Linked DNA regions of Homo sapiens: region 2 is linked to region 1. Evidence: promoter capture Hi-C in human tissues and cell types (Jung and others, 2019). All regions are on one chromosome and are shown on one strand. Each heading gives the region's core, a stretch centred on a gene start or on the middle of the fragment in contact. The rest is flanking DNA. Distances are from core to core; before and after follow the strand shown.

Region 1 (6,235 bases), core at 103-2,602:
AGGTCTGTACCCAGGGCTGGTGTCAAGGAAGGAGGGCTGAATATTGGGGTTGGAAGGCTGCAGCAGGGACACTGAGTTACTCAATGCCAAGGAGCATGGAGTTCCAGAACCACAGGCAGAAGAGCGCCCTTTGGAGCTATGAAATATGGCGGCTTTGGCCCAACAAGGACCAGCTCAATGGTGAGATCCCAGTCTCAGGCAGAGCCAGGAGGCTCTCCAGGCCTCAGCACTAGGGGTTTTCCTTTTTTGTTTTGTTTTGTTTTTGAGACAGAGTTTCACTCTTGTTGCCCAGGCTGGAATGCAATGGCACGATCTCGGCTCACCACAACCTCTGCTTCCCACGTTCAAGCAATTCTCCTGCCTCAGCCTCTCAAGGAGCTGGGATTACAGGCATGTGACGCCATGCCTGGCTAATTTTCTATTTTTAGTAGAGACGAGGTTTCTTCATGTTGGTCAGGCTGGTCTCGAACTCCCGACCTCAGGTGATCTGCCCGCCTCGGCCTCCCAAAGTGCTGGGATTACAGGCGTGAGCCACCACACCCGGCCCTAGCACTAGGGGTTTTCAGTTCCACAGTGTTCCCCATGGTTCTGGGGGGTTGCCTGCAGGGCTGTCCACTGGGGAAAGGATGTAGGAATGGATCTCAGTCCCCCTCTTCAAGTCCCCTTCTATCTGGCTTCCCTATTAGCATTCTACTAAGTCTTCAGGCTGGGCGTGGTGGCTCATGCCTATAATCCCAGCAGTTTGGGAGGCTGAGGTGGAAGGATTGCTTGAGCCCTGGAGTTTCAGACCAGCCTGGGCAACATAAGGAGACCCTGTCTCTACAAAAATTAAAAAATGAGCCAGGCATGGTGGTGCATGCCTGTGGTCCCAGCAACTCAGGAGGCTGAGGTGGGAGGACCGATTCAGCCTGGGAGGTAGAGGCTGCAGTGGGCCATGATTGTGCCACTGCACTCCAGCCTGGGCAACAAAGCAAGACCCTGTCTCAAAATGAAGTAAAATAAAATAAACTGATAAAATAAAAATAAATAAAATAATTAGGCTGGGCACGGTGGCTCACGCCTATAATCCCAGCACTTTCGGAGGCCAGGGTGGGCAGATCATCTTAAGGTCAAGAGTTCAAGACCAGCCTGGCCAGTATGGTGAGATCCTGTCTCTATTAAAAATACAAAAATTAGCTGGGCGTGGTGGTATGCACTTGTAATCCCAGGTACTCAGGAGGCTGAGGCAGGAGAATCACTTGAACCTGGGAAGCAGAGATTGCAGTGAGCCTAGATCTCACCATTGCACTCCAGCCTGGGCAACAGAGCGTGACTTTGTCTCAAAAATAAATAAATAAATAAAAATAATTAAATTAAAATACAATATAATATAATACAATACTAAGCCTTCATTGGAAAGTTTCCACAAAAAAAAAAAAGTGTTATTTGAAACTAGACAAACTGACCAAGTCGAACCTCTTTGATTTACAGGTAAAAAACTGAATCCTGGAGAGTGACGTGACTTACTGAAGGCCACTTAGCTACCCAGCAGTTGAGCAAAGGCAAATGGACACACCAACACCTATTTATGGAGCCCACACTGCTTCCCCCAAAATGTGCACCTATGTTCTGGGGGTGGGAGGGCGGGGCCATCTATTTGTCTGACTAGCCTGCTCTGCTGTGGGGCCAGGTCGGGACGTGCTGGAGGGATTTTCCCCAGGCACCCGGTGCTTACGGAAGAGGCTACGTTCTTCTCATTCCTCTGGAGGGTAGAGAGCCCAGGCGAGACCTCCAGCAGGGTGGTTGTCCCCAGCTGGGAGCCGCAGGCGATGAGACACCCATTGTCCTGCACCCGGAGGCAGAAGAGGGCCTCGTCACACACCTATTGAAGGGGCCGGGCAGACCCAGGTAGAGGAGAGAGGAGCAAAGTTATGTGTGTCTGATTAACTGGCCCCTGGGGAGGCTCAGCCACTTGGCCCTATTCAAACATCCTCAGGACGCCTCTGCCCACAGGATGAAGTTCAAACTCGGAGACTGGTTGTCAAGGCTCCTGGCTTCCCTGCCTCATCTCCCGCCCCACCCCTTCAGTTCCGCCTCACAGTCACCCTGTGGTTCCCCAATGCCCCCACCCTTCCGTGGCCCCAGCCAGTGGGGCTCAGCTCTGGCCACCCTGACATGAAGGGGAAGGTCCAGCAGCCAAACCCCAGGGGCTCTGAAGGAATCGGCCTGTGGGTAGGAGATGCCGGGTACCTGCTTTTGTTTCTTTTTAAATTTCCCCCAGGTGGTTCTGTTGTGCTACCAGGATGCCAAATCCCCCAGGCCCCTTAACCTTTGTAGGAGCACACGCTCAAAAGCAATCGCTGCAGTCAGCCTGCACACGGCTCCCCCACAGAGGCCCAAACACACCTGGCCACACACTGCACACGTGCTCACAGCACCCCACACTCACACCCACGCCGGGACCTGGCTCCCTGAGGACCTGGATGCACAAGGAGGGACATGCGCGTGACCTTCAAGCTGAGGGTGGGATCGCACTGCTCGAACATGAAGTCCCAGATATCCAGGGTTCCGTCCATCCTGGTGGTAAAGAAAACGGTCGGCCTCACGGGGCTCCAGGCAGCATCAGTGAGGTAAGCCATGTGGTACCTGTGGGAGGTAGACCACATCATGGTTGGAGGGACAGAGGCTTCTGAGCCACAGCTTGGCTCACTTGGTCCCTTCTGGGCTCCAGGATCTCAGAGTCTTGCTAGGTAGGAAGTTCTTCCTTGTGTCTGACTTCTAGCTGTGCTGACCTCACTCATCCACAGCTCACAGGTTGCTTTTTTTTTTTTTTTTTTTGAGACACTCTTGCTCTGTTGCCCAGGCTGGAGTGCAGTGGTACGATGTCGGCTCACTGCAATCTCTGCCTCCTGGGTTCAAGCAATTCTCCTGTCTCAGCCTCCCGAGTAACTGGGATTACTGGCGCCCGTCACCACACCCAGCTAATATTTTATTTTTGCTAGAGATGGGGTTTCACCATGTTGGCCAGGCTGCTCTCAAACTCTTGACCTCAGGTGTCTGACAGGCTGTTCTTTAAAGGGCTCTGGGCTGGTCATGTGCCTGTAATCCCAGCACTTTGGGAGGCCAAGGCAGGAAGATCGCTTGAAGCCAGGATTTTGAGACCAGCCTGGACAACATGGAAAGACCCTGTTTCTACAAAAAATAAAAAAATTAGCCGGGTGTGGTGGTGAGCACCTGTGGTCCCAGCTCCTCGGGAGGCTGAGATGGGAGGATCGCTTGAGCCCAGGAGGTCGAGGCTGCAGTGAGCCATGTTTGTGCCACTGTACTCCAGCCTGGGCAACGTAGTGAGACCCTGTCTCAAATAAAATAAAGAAAGGGCTCTGGGCACAGTCCTTCCCGTGGGCTGGCCACTGGCATTTCTCTGCTGCTAACTCCAGGCAGCAGGCACGTGTTGCTGGACCTGGTCCCAGCCCTGGGACTCACGGATGGGAGTCAGAGGAAGGACATGCCCAGAAAAGCTGCTACCGCTGAGATAAGGAGAGTGTCACTTCCTACTTGGTTTCATCTGGGTTTTCAAGAGTTTCTTCAGTGAAGACGGAACATTTTTTTAAAAGGGACACACACACAGTGCAGCCTTCAGATTTTCACCCAGACCTCCTCTCCCTTCCTCCATTGCAATATAGTTGTAGCTGGGCCCCTGGTGAGCAAGGCAGACTACACTTCCCAGTCACCTTTGCAAACCTAGTGTGTTGACAGCCAGACCACAGTGGGAGAAATGATCAAGACTAAAGAAAGGATCTGGGCCGGGCGCGGTGGCTCATGCCTGTCATCCCAGGACTTTGGGAGGCCGAGAATGGTGGATCACCTGAGGTCAGGAGTTTGAGATCAGCCTGGCCAACATGGCAGAACCCTGCCTCTACTAAAAATAAAAAAATTATCCAGGGGTGTTGGTGGGCGCCTGTAATCCCAGCTACTCAGGAGGCTGAGGCAGAAGAATTGCTTGAACCCAGGAGGTGAAGGTTGTAGTGAGCCAAGATCGTGCCACTGCACTCCAGCCTGGGCAACAAAGAGACTTCATCCCCCCAAAAAAAGAAACATCTGGAGATTTTTGGACAATGAATAATTTTTAGTATAAGTATATACCAAATATTGCATGGGACATACTTATACTAAAAAAAAAATAGTTTTTTTTTTTAAAATTCAGATTTAACTAAGTGCCAAATATTATTTTTTTTTGAGACGGAGTCTCACTCTGTCGCCCAGGCTGGAGTGCAGTGGCGCAATCTCGGCTGGTCTTGAACTCCTGATCTCAGGTGATCCACCCGCCTCGGCCTCCCAAAGTGCTGGGATTACAGGCGTTAGCCACCAAGCCCAGCTGATTTTTTGTATTTTTATTAGAGATGGGGATTCACCATATTGGCCAGGCTCGTCTTGAACTCCTGACCTCAAGTGATCCTCCCGCCTCAGCCTCCCAAAGTGCTGGGATTACAGGCATTAGCCCACTGCACCTGGCCCAGGGTCAAATATTCTTATTTGCTAAATTTGTTTAACCTTATGCAGGAGGAGGACAAGGGAGACCCAGGTTCTACGACACAGGTCCACCAAGTCCCTCTAGGAACCAGCCCTGCGAAAGGCCTATGGGTGCTGTGCTCGACACCCTGCTCCTTTCACACAGCCCTGGCAGCCTGCAGGACCTGAAGACATTGGGAAGGCTCCTAAAGCCTGTAAAGGGCTTCACATCTACTGGGAACCCCCTACTTGCTATGAGGCCTGGAACAATGCACTGCCCTTGTCAGCCAGCGTTCCCACCCCTGTAGAATGAGGACATCGAACCAGGTTTCTGCTCCCAAAGCAAGGACTGGCTGAGTCACAAGCCTGGGGTTGCTCCTTAGCAAACCCATTCCTGGGCTAAGCCCAAGATTCTATGTTAGTACCCCCAGGGTTGGGGCTGAGAATCTGGATTTTAAAAAAATCACTCCTCCACCAGGCACGGTGGCTCATGCCTGTAATCCCAGCCCTTCGGGAGGCTGAGGCAGGCGAATCACCTGAGGTCAGGAGTTTGAGACCAGCCTGGCCAACATGGGGAAACTCTGTCTATACTAAAAATACAAAAATTAGCTGGGTGTGCTGGCGTGCGCCTGTAATCCCAGCTACTCAGGAGGATAAGGCAGGAGAATCGCATGAACTCGGGAGGTGGAGGTTGCAGTGAGCCGAGATCTCGCCATTGCACTTCAGCCTGGGTGACAGAGTAAGACTCCATCTCAAAAGCATTTTAACAAACAAACAAAAACTCCTCCCAAGATATTCTGATGCAACCAGATTTGGGAAGCACTGGAACCAAAGATGCTCATTAGGGTTGCTGGTGGCTTTGACGTTGCAGGAGTCTGTGGTTCTGTGGGCAGGAAAGGAACCCCAGGATGTTTTTTTTAGCAAGAGAAAAAAGTAATTATTTATACATGCAATGCACAATACACATGGCAGTGCTCGGTGGTGAATGACTCAAGGGGGTGGTTAGAATTCGGGCTTATTACCTAATTTAGGAGATGAAGGGGAGGAGGAGAAAGGGCACTTTTAGACAAGGTAAATGGGCCCTAAGAAGAATGGAGGGGGATGTGATAGTCTAAGCTTCTCTGGTCTAACCATTGTGCTCATAGCTCTGTCTCAAGCTCCCTGTCTGTTGCTCTCCTCAGAGGAGTGGCACTGAGCAAGACAGGCTATGCCTCACTGCTGAATTGTGCCAAGGCACCCGCATTTCCCAGCCAAGCTTCCTTGGTTCACACCCAATCTCGGCTCCTCACTAGCTGGGAGAGCAGGAGCAAGTGGCTTGGCCTTTCTGTAGCCCAGTTCCCTAACATGAAAAATGAGATGAAGAGAAGAGCAATGCTGCCTCCTCCTGGGGATAGTTTGAGGATTATGAAAATTAAGCCAGCCAGACGCGGTGGCTCACACCTGTAATCCCAACGCTTTGGGAGGCCGAGGTGGGCAGATCACCTGAGGTCAGGAGTTCAAGACCAGCCTGGCCAACGTGGCAAAATCCCATCTCTACTAAAAATACAAAAATTAGTTGGGCATGGTGGCAGGTGCTTGTAGTCCCAGCTACTCAGGAGGCTGAGGCAGGAGAGTCTCTTGAACCTGGGAGGTGGAGGCTGCAGTGAGCCGAGATCACGCCACTGCACTCAGTCTGGGGAACTAAGCGAGACTGTCTCAAAAAAAAAAAAAAAAAAAAAAGGAAATAAAATTAAGCCATGGCCATTAT
Region 2 (7,558 bases), core at 3,287-5,786, 36 kb after region 1:
TGGAATCTCATTTTGTTACCCATGCTGGAGTGGAGTGGCATATCTGCTCACTGCAACCTCCGCCTCCTGCGTTCAAGTGGTTCTCCTGCTTCAGCCTCCAGAGTAGCTGGGATTACAGGTATGCGCCACCATGCCCGGCCAACAATGTTAACAAAAAGAGAAGCCACAGACTTGGATAAAATATCTGCAAATTATCTATTTGATAAAGAACTTGCATCCAGAATATGTAAAGACTGACCAGGTTGCAAGCACTATGAACAACAGTTTCCAGGCGTGCTTCCTGCATGCCCAGCACCACTCCCAAAGAGTGATCACAATTCTCACTAACATTTCTTTTTATGAGACAGTGTCTTGCTCTGTCATCCAGGCTGGAGTGCAGTGGCATGAACACAGCTTGCTGCAGCCTCAACCTCCCAGGCTCAAGCAATCCTCCCACCTCAGCCTTCTGAGTAACTGGGACCACAGGCAGACACTACCACATCAGACTAATTTTTTTTTTTTTGTAGAGTTGAGGGTCTCACTATGTTGCCCAGGCTTGTCTCAAACTCCTGGGCTCAAGTGATCCTCCTGCCTCAGCCTCCCAAAGTGCTGGGATTATAGGCATGAGCCCATTTTCGAGATGAAGAAACTGAGGCCTGGAGAGATGAAGTATTAATACAGGGCCAAAGGTCACAGTTCTTCAGTTCAGGCAGAACCACCAGGCATGTCTGGCTCTAAAGCAGTGATTGTTAGTCCTGACTGCACATTTAGAAACACCTGCAGGGCTTTGTGAAATCACAATGCTGTTTGAACCCCAGAACAACTACATCAGAATCTCTCATCAGTATATGCTTTTTTTCTTTAATTCTCCAGGCAATTCCATGTGTAGCCAACTTTGAGGACCATTGATTTAAAGTGAGGGAACTTAATCTCTCAACCAGCGTTTCTGAAACCTGGGATCTTCCTTAAAAATACACAGACTCCCAGGCCTCTCTCCTGCAAATGCTGAACTAGATGCCTGGGGCAGGGCCTAGCAATTCGTGTTTTTCACAATCACCCTAGGTGAACATGACTACCAGACCTGTGTCTTACCTACCCTCTCCCGCCTCCAGGGCTACAAGGCACCAGACCAGTGGGTCCTGGCCGCTGGCCCCTGAGAGGCAGGGCAGGAGCTGTGTGCCCCTAGAAGCATGTGCCAGGGGGAACTTGGGCCCTGGAGCAGCTGGGGCAGCAGGTGGGGAGAAGGAGGGTAGGAAGGTTAACCCTTTGCATCCATATACATTGTGTCTTGAAGACAGTACCACCCCATCCCACTCCTAGCCCCAGAGCAACTCAACCTTAACCAGACTGTTGCAGAAAGTGGCATTTTCTTTCTTTTTTTCTTTTTTCTTTTTTTTTTTTTTTTTGAGATGGATTCTCGCTCTGTCGTCCAGGCTGGAGTGCAGTGGCAAGATCTAGGCTCATTGCAAACTCCGTCTCCCGGGTGCAAGCGATTCTCCTGCCTCAGCCTCCCGTAGCTGGGATTACAGGCACATGCCACCATTCGCGGCTAATTTTTGTATTTTTAGTAGAGACAGGGTTTCAGCATGTTGGCCAGGCTGTTCTTGAACTCCTGATCTCAAGTGATCCGCCCACCTCGGCCTCCCAAAGTGCTGGGATTACAGGCATGAGCCACCGCACCCAGCCTTGTTTTCTTCTCTTTCTTGTAGTTTGGAAATTCTCTTTCCTGGGTGGGAGCAATGGCTTAGAGGGCACAGGGTGGGATGAGAAGCCCAGATTGTAGCGGGGTGCCCCAGTGTGTTTTTACCACATGGACAAAGCTACGGCCTTGTGAAAAAGCATGCAAATCCCGTGGCATCCTCCCCTTTGCCAACACAGTGTGAAGCAACTGTGCCTCCCACATGGGGCTGCAGGACTCAGGCAATTAGGGCTGCCTGTCTCTGACTTTTAAAAGAAATTGCTGCAAGCCAGCTGGCTCCTAGGGGACACAAGGAGATTGAAGAGAATGAGGAAACTCCAGGAAGACAGAAATAGCCTCTTTAGCCCAGATCAGATTTTTAACAGCTTTGCTTTCCTTCTTGGTGTTTCCCAAGGCCAAGCCCCGAGTGAGAACAGAGGCATTGTCTTGTGTCTGGAGGCAGACAGAGGGGACATTTAAAGACTGGCCTGGTGACGGGAAGACAACCCATTCAAGGACCCAGAGCAAGCTCTTCTCACAAGCTAGCAGGGCACACAGATGAATAGCAAGGTCAGCAAAGGGCGTCTCAGGAGGTCTCCCCCAACCTCTTGTGAGACTAGTGCTAGAGGGTGGGCTTCCCCAAGCAAGGCCTGAGCAGGAGTGTCTGCATGGGGTGACAGAGCGGGGACGGGAGCAGTGTCACTGCCCTCTGGAGTTTTGGGGGGAGATCCTCCCCCCGTGGGAACCTAGAGTCCCAGAGGCGTGAAGAACACCACTGTGAGTCTCAAACACAGGAACACGCAGAATCAGGGACGCTGTGGTCCAGACATCAAAGATTCAGGCGTCTCCCGCATCCCCGGGGAGGCAGTCAGATGGGAACCTTCACTCACTATAAAAACAAAACTCGTCTTGTGCAGTGAGAATGAGCAAAGTAATTCCTGGAGAGAACCTCCGGTGGCTTAAGGGAAAGTGTGTTTTCCAAGCTGGGAGGAAGGCCAAGGGAGTGATGGGGAGGAGGAGTGTCAGCGTGGGAGACTGGGAAGGAGGCAAGCTGGAAGGTCAGCCCTCCACATTGAACTCCCTAGTGGAATAAGGAGATGAGAACATTTTCCTCTTCTTCTTGGTCCCTGGTACAGCCCCTACTGGGTTCCTGCGAGTGGTGGGCCCTGCATGGCACCTGGCAGGAGAGGACTTCCTTCCCTCTTTCTTTGTTGTTGTTGCTTTTGGGACAGTGTTGCTCTGTCACCCAGGCTGGAGTGCAGTGGTGTGATATTGGCTCACTCCAACCTCTGCCTCCCAAGTTCAAGCGATTCTTGTGCCTCAGTCTCCTGAGTAGCTGAGACTACTGGTGCATGCCACCACACTCGGCTAATTTTTTTTTTTTTTGAGACGGAGTCTCAGTCTGTCACCTAGGCTGGAGTGCAGTGGCCTGATCTCAGCTCACTGCAACCTCCACCTCCCAGGTTTAAGCAATTCTTCTGCCTCCACCTGCCGAGTAGCTGGGACTACAGGCGTGAGCCACTGCACCCGGCCAGAATTTTTGTATTTTTAGTAAAGATGGGGTTTCACCATGTTGGGCAGGCTGGTCTCAAACTCCTGACCTCAAGTGATCCATCCTCCTGGGCCTCTCAAAGCACTGGGATTACAGGTGTGAAAACCGCACCCAGCTTTCTTTCTCTTTCTTATGTCCTTGTGCACCTTCTGGAATTCCGGGGTCCTGAGGGACTCACTCTACCCTCAAAAGAGGCAGACCTCCCTAGAAAGCCCCCATTTATTTTCCCCCAGGATAGCACTAAGCATGGCTGAGCCCCCCAAGGAAAGTGAAGGTTGAGGGCAGGACGAGTTGGGAAGAGGTCCCCAGAATTGGAGACCGATGGGGGTCAGTGACTACCTGCCCTCACAACTACCTTGTGGTCTCCTTGACGGAAAGACTGTGGTCTTTTATTCACTCCCGTCCCCAGGGACTGGCACATAGAAGGGGCCCAAGACTCCTGTCACCTGCTGCGTTAGTGACTGTGATACCAGCGCCTACCAGGCTTCTCTCTACAGCTCTCTCCCCTGTTCCTCCTCTGCTGACCGTGACAAACAAGCAAAGGATTTGAAACCAAGGATTCGAGAGGAAAACACATAGGGTCTGAAAGCTGGGAGAAGACGCACTTCTGTGGTTCAAGAGAATGTGGTAAACCTTGACCTTGAGCAGGAAGGAGGAACTGCACACGCTCCGGAGGAACTCACCAACTGTATGACCTCGATCACACGAGAACGCCAGCTCCCAGGTTGAGGAAGAAATGAAAGAAAGCACTTAAAACACCTGCCACCTAGCAGGTGTGCAATACTGTTAATTTACATCCCTCTATCCTGAGCAGAAAGCTCTCCTCTTAAAGGGCCCATCTTCCCATCACCCTAGCCGGAGGCTGTTTTTCTTCTTTTTTTTCCATCCATTCAGCTGTAAATCCTTCAGAGGTCTCCAGTCCACTCCAGGACAAGGACTGTATCAGGACCTGAGTGGGTAGGAGGGTATGAGGCAGGGTGTACAGAGGCTGCAGGGTCCTGCGACTTGGGGCGGATCCAGGGCAGCGAGGACTAAGGGGAAGAGGGCACTAGGAGCGCTAGTCCTGGCAGCCACCATCTGGCAGAGCTATCCCAGAAGGAAGCCCCCCAAGAGGAATGTTTGGCACTCTTGGTGGTTATTACCCTGTAAGTCTCTCCCTGTCACTCTCCACTCTAGTCTTTAGCCTCCGACGTCCTCCTGGCGCCCGCCCCTTACCCTGGGTCCGCTCCTTCTGCTTCTGGGTCTCTGGGGAAGCGTTCAATCCACGGTCGCGGCTCCGGTGCTCCTCAAACGGCGGCGTTTACCGGTTGCTTGGCAACCCCGGCCTGGCTCCGGACGCGCGGGGCGACGCGGAAGGACCCCGGAGCACGTGACTCCTTTCCTGCCACGTCGGAAGCGCAGGCCATCCCTCTTCTTTTTGGAGGTCTCCTGAGTTAGGAGAAGAATTAACCAATAGGTTGGTAACATACTAATAATGATCATGAATATTTGTAGGGGCGTTGCCAAGGCGCTTATCCAAGCCTACGTTTGTATGCATTTGCATCGAGCAAGGCACCCAGAAAATGCAAGGAAGAATAGTCAGTGCTTGGGAAGCCCTGATCCCTGGGTGGTGATGGCGGGCTCTGCTTACCATCTTGGCCGACTGTGTTGTCCTGCCTTCCTTCAGTTTCCGCATCCATTCAGTGGGAATTATAACTCTGCCCTCCCCTCTGCTACCATCCTTCCTCCACTTTCTGTAATAAAGACATCTTCCCGCACCACCAGAATGGAAACTCCTTGGGAGTAGAAGCTGGGGAATTTTTTTTTTTTTGAGACGGAGTCTCGCTCTGTCGCCCAGGCTAGAGTGCAGTGGCGCGATCTCGGCTCACTGCAAGCTCCGCCTCCCGAGTTCACACCATTCTCCTGCCTCAGCCTCCCGAGTAGCTGGGACTACAGGTGCCCGCCACTACGCCCGGCTAATTTTTTGTATTTTTAGTAGAGACGGGGTTTCTCCGTGTTAGCCAGGATGGTCTCGATCTCCTGACCTTGTGATCCGCCTGCCTCGGCCTCCCAAAGTGCTGGGATTACAGGCGTGAGCCACCGCGCCCGGCAAAGCTGGGGATTTTTACAGCTTAGCTGGGTGATTGGCACGAAATGTACTGTGTTCATTGAATGAATGGTTGAATGAATGAAACGAGTCATGTTTCTCAGGGAGTTAAGGCAATTGCGATCATGTAAATTAAAACAAGGGAATTTGGGGCTAGAAAAAAATGAATTTGAATCCCAGATTGGCTACCTACTAATCTCATGGCCCTGGGCAAGTTCCTTTCCTTTTCTAAGACTCAGCTATCCTCATCTGCAAAGTGGCAGGACAGTGGCGGTGCTTATTAGATAATGGGGAGGATTAAGTGAGAGACAACACAGGGGCGTGTCCAGCCCCCGTCCAGAGCTACTGGTGCCTGAATGAGTGGCAGCTCGGGGAATGAGGTTATCCCGAGTTCAGATGCTGACATCGGAAATTTGGACTGGGACAGAAGAGGAGTGCGTCATCCAAGAAGTGGGATTGGGGTTGGAACTGGGCCTTGAAAAATGGTTATGAGTTGCAGGGAAGAGGAGTGGGGAGGGCGTTCCAGATTGGGGGAGGGCATGGCGTGAGCAAGGAAGGAAGGGGCAGTCGTCATGGAAGAAAGGCATTTTGCGAGGATGGTGGGTGGATCAGTCTGGCTGGGGTTGAGAGTCCCTGCAGGGGAAAAATGAGAGAGGAATTTGCAAAGGTCAGCCAGGGCCAGTCTGTGGGGGGTCCCAAGAGAGGCAGGCTGAGGGGCCCAGACAGCTTTCCATGGGAAGCCCTCAGCGGGTTTGGGATCTGTGAAAGGACAGGAAGGAAGCAAACGTTTCTCTCCCACTTCCCAACTTCTCCATATATGTGTTGTCACCACTACCCACCTGCCTTTAGTGGGGCAGGTGCAAGGAAATTCCCAATGAGACGGCACCTTGCAGGGCCGCACTAACCAAAGACAAGCACCTAAATGACTGCTGCCACCAATCTCTCCTGATCCGTTCTGGCTCGCACCAGTTTCTCGGGACAAAGAACTCTTAGGGGTGGGTGCTGAGGGTCCTGACAGGGGCTGGGTGGAGGAGCTCCTGAAAGACGCATTGAAATGGCTTTGTGTGGTCAGAGGTGAATCAGACCCAAAGTCTCCAAGAATAGGAAACGATCCACTCCATGATGAGGTAGTGGCTGGCTGGGGTTGCAATCATAATGCAACCCTTTCCACTCCACCTCCAGCCCTGGGAAGCCGAGGGCTCTCTGAAGACACATTATTTTGTGGGTGGGAAAGTGGGTTAGAAGGGGAAATAGGAAAAGTTGAAAGGAAACTGCAGCCACCTTTACCATATTATCCAACAATTTAGTACAGGCTCCCCACCCCCACCCTCACCCAGAAGGCTGCAGGCCACCGACCACAGAGGGCAGCTCTGTTCACTGGCCAAACAGTTACCCCTTGGCCGGCTGCCTCGGCGTGAGGTCATATAATTAGAAGTATTCACAAGGACCTAGTTTGAAAACAATTGCGGTGCCTCTCAGATCTTCACCCAATCACAGCATAATTGGCAGCAGAAATTCTTTGCTGAGAGCCGCCCCTGGCCCTGGACATCCCCAGGCATTGCCACAACCCGTTCCACTGCTGTGTCCCCCTTTAGTCCCAATTTTTGTGTGCGTGGTGAACTACACATAAAATTTACCATCTTAACCATTTTTCAGTGTATAGTTCAGTGGTATTAAGTTCATTCACATTGTTTTTTGGTCTCGCTCTGTCGCCCAGGCTGGGGTACAGTGGTGTAATCATGGCTCACTGCAGCCTCAACCTCCAGGGCTCAAGCGAGCCCCCCTCCTCAGCCTCCCAAGTAGCTGGGAACACAGGTGCACATACCCATGCTCGGCTAATTTTTTTCATTTTTTGTAGCCACAGGTAAGAGGCAGGACTTGATTCTGGAGGCAGGGCTCAGACACCAGACCAGACTGAGGGCTAGCTAAAATAGGGAAGAGGCGGAAGCAGCTCTCCATAAGACACGCCCACCAGTGTGCCATGTCAATTTACCATTGCCATGGCAACACCTGGAAGTTATCCACCCCTTCCATGGCAATGACCCAATGACCTGAATGTTACCACCCTTTTTCTAGAAATGTCTGCATGATCCACCTCTTAATTTGCATGTAATTAAAAATGGGCATAAATATGACTGCAAAACTGCTTCTGAGCTGCTAGTCTCTGCACACTGCCTACAGGTAGCCCTGCTCTGCAGGAGCAGTCATGAGCTGTAGCACTGCCACCTCAATCAAGCAGTTTTCCTCTGCCACTGGCTCACCC

The links. The method cuts DNA at HindIII sites, captures the fragments that hold promoters and counts their contacts. A contact is called where the count stands out against the background at its distance.
Region 2: a contact is called between the fragment with the promoter of DNAI2 here and a fragment that was not itself captured in region 1, in 2 of the 25 tissues and cell types used here (liver and pancreas).

Annotation. Positions count from the first base shown.
Region 1 is chr17:74,305,643-74,311,877 of GRCh38, reverse strand. It overlaps DNAI2 (dynein axonemal intermediate chain 2), which reads right to left. Exons shown (of 14, transcript NM_023036.6): 10 at 2,490-2,625; 11 at 1,715-1,861. It overlaps LOC105371891 (a long non-coding RNA gene), which reads left to right. Exons shown (of 4, transcript XR_934971.3): 3 at 1-180; 4 at 1,471-1,621. Among named protein-coding and RNA genes, the nearest start is that of KIF19, 17 kb to the left of the region's middle. The HindIII fragment of the contact is 9,299 bases long and covers 1-6,001 here.
Region 2 is chr17:74,271,212-74,278,769 of GRCh38, reverse strand. DNAI2 (dynein axonemal intermediate chain 2) reads right to left here and starts at 4,536. Exons shown (of 14, transcript NM_023036.6): 1 at 4,425-4,536. The HindIII fragment of the contact is 25,570 bases long and covers 1-7,558 here.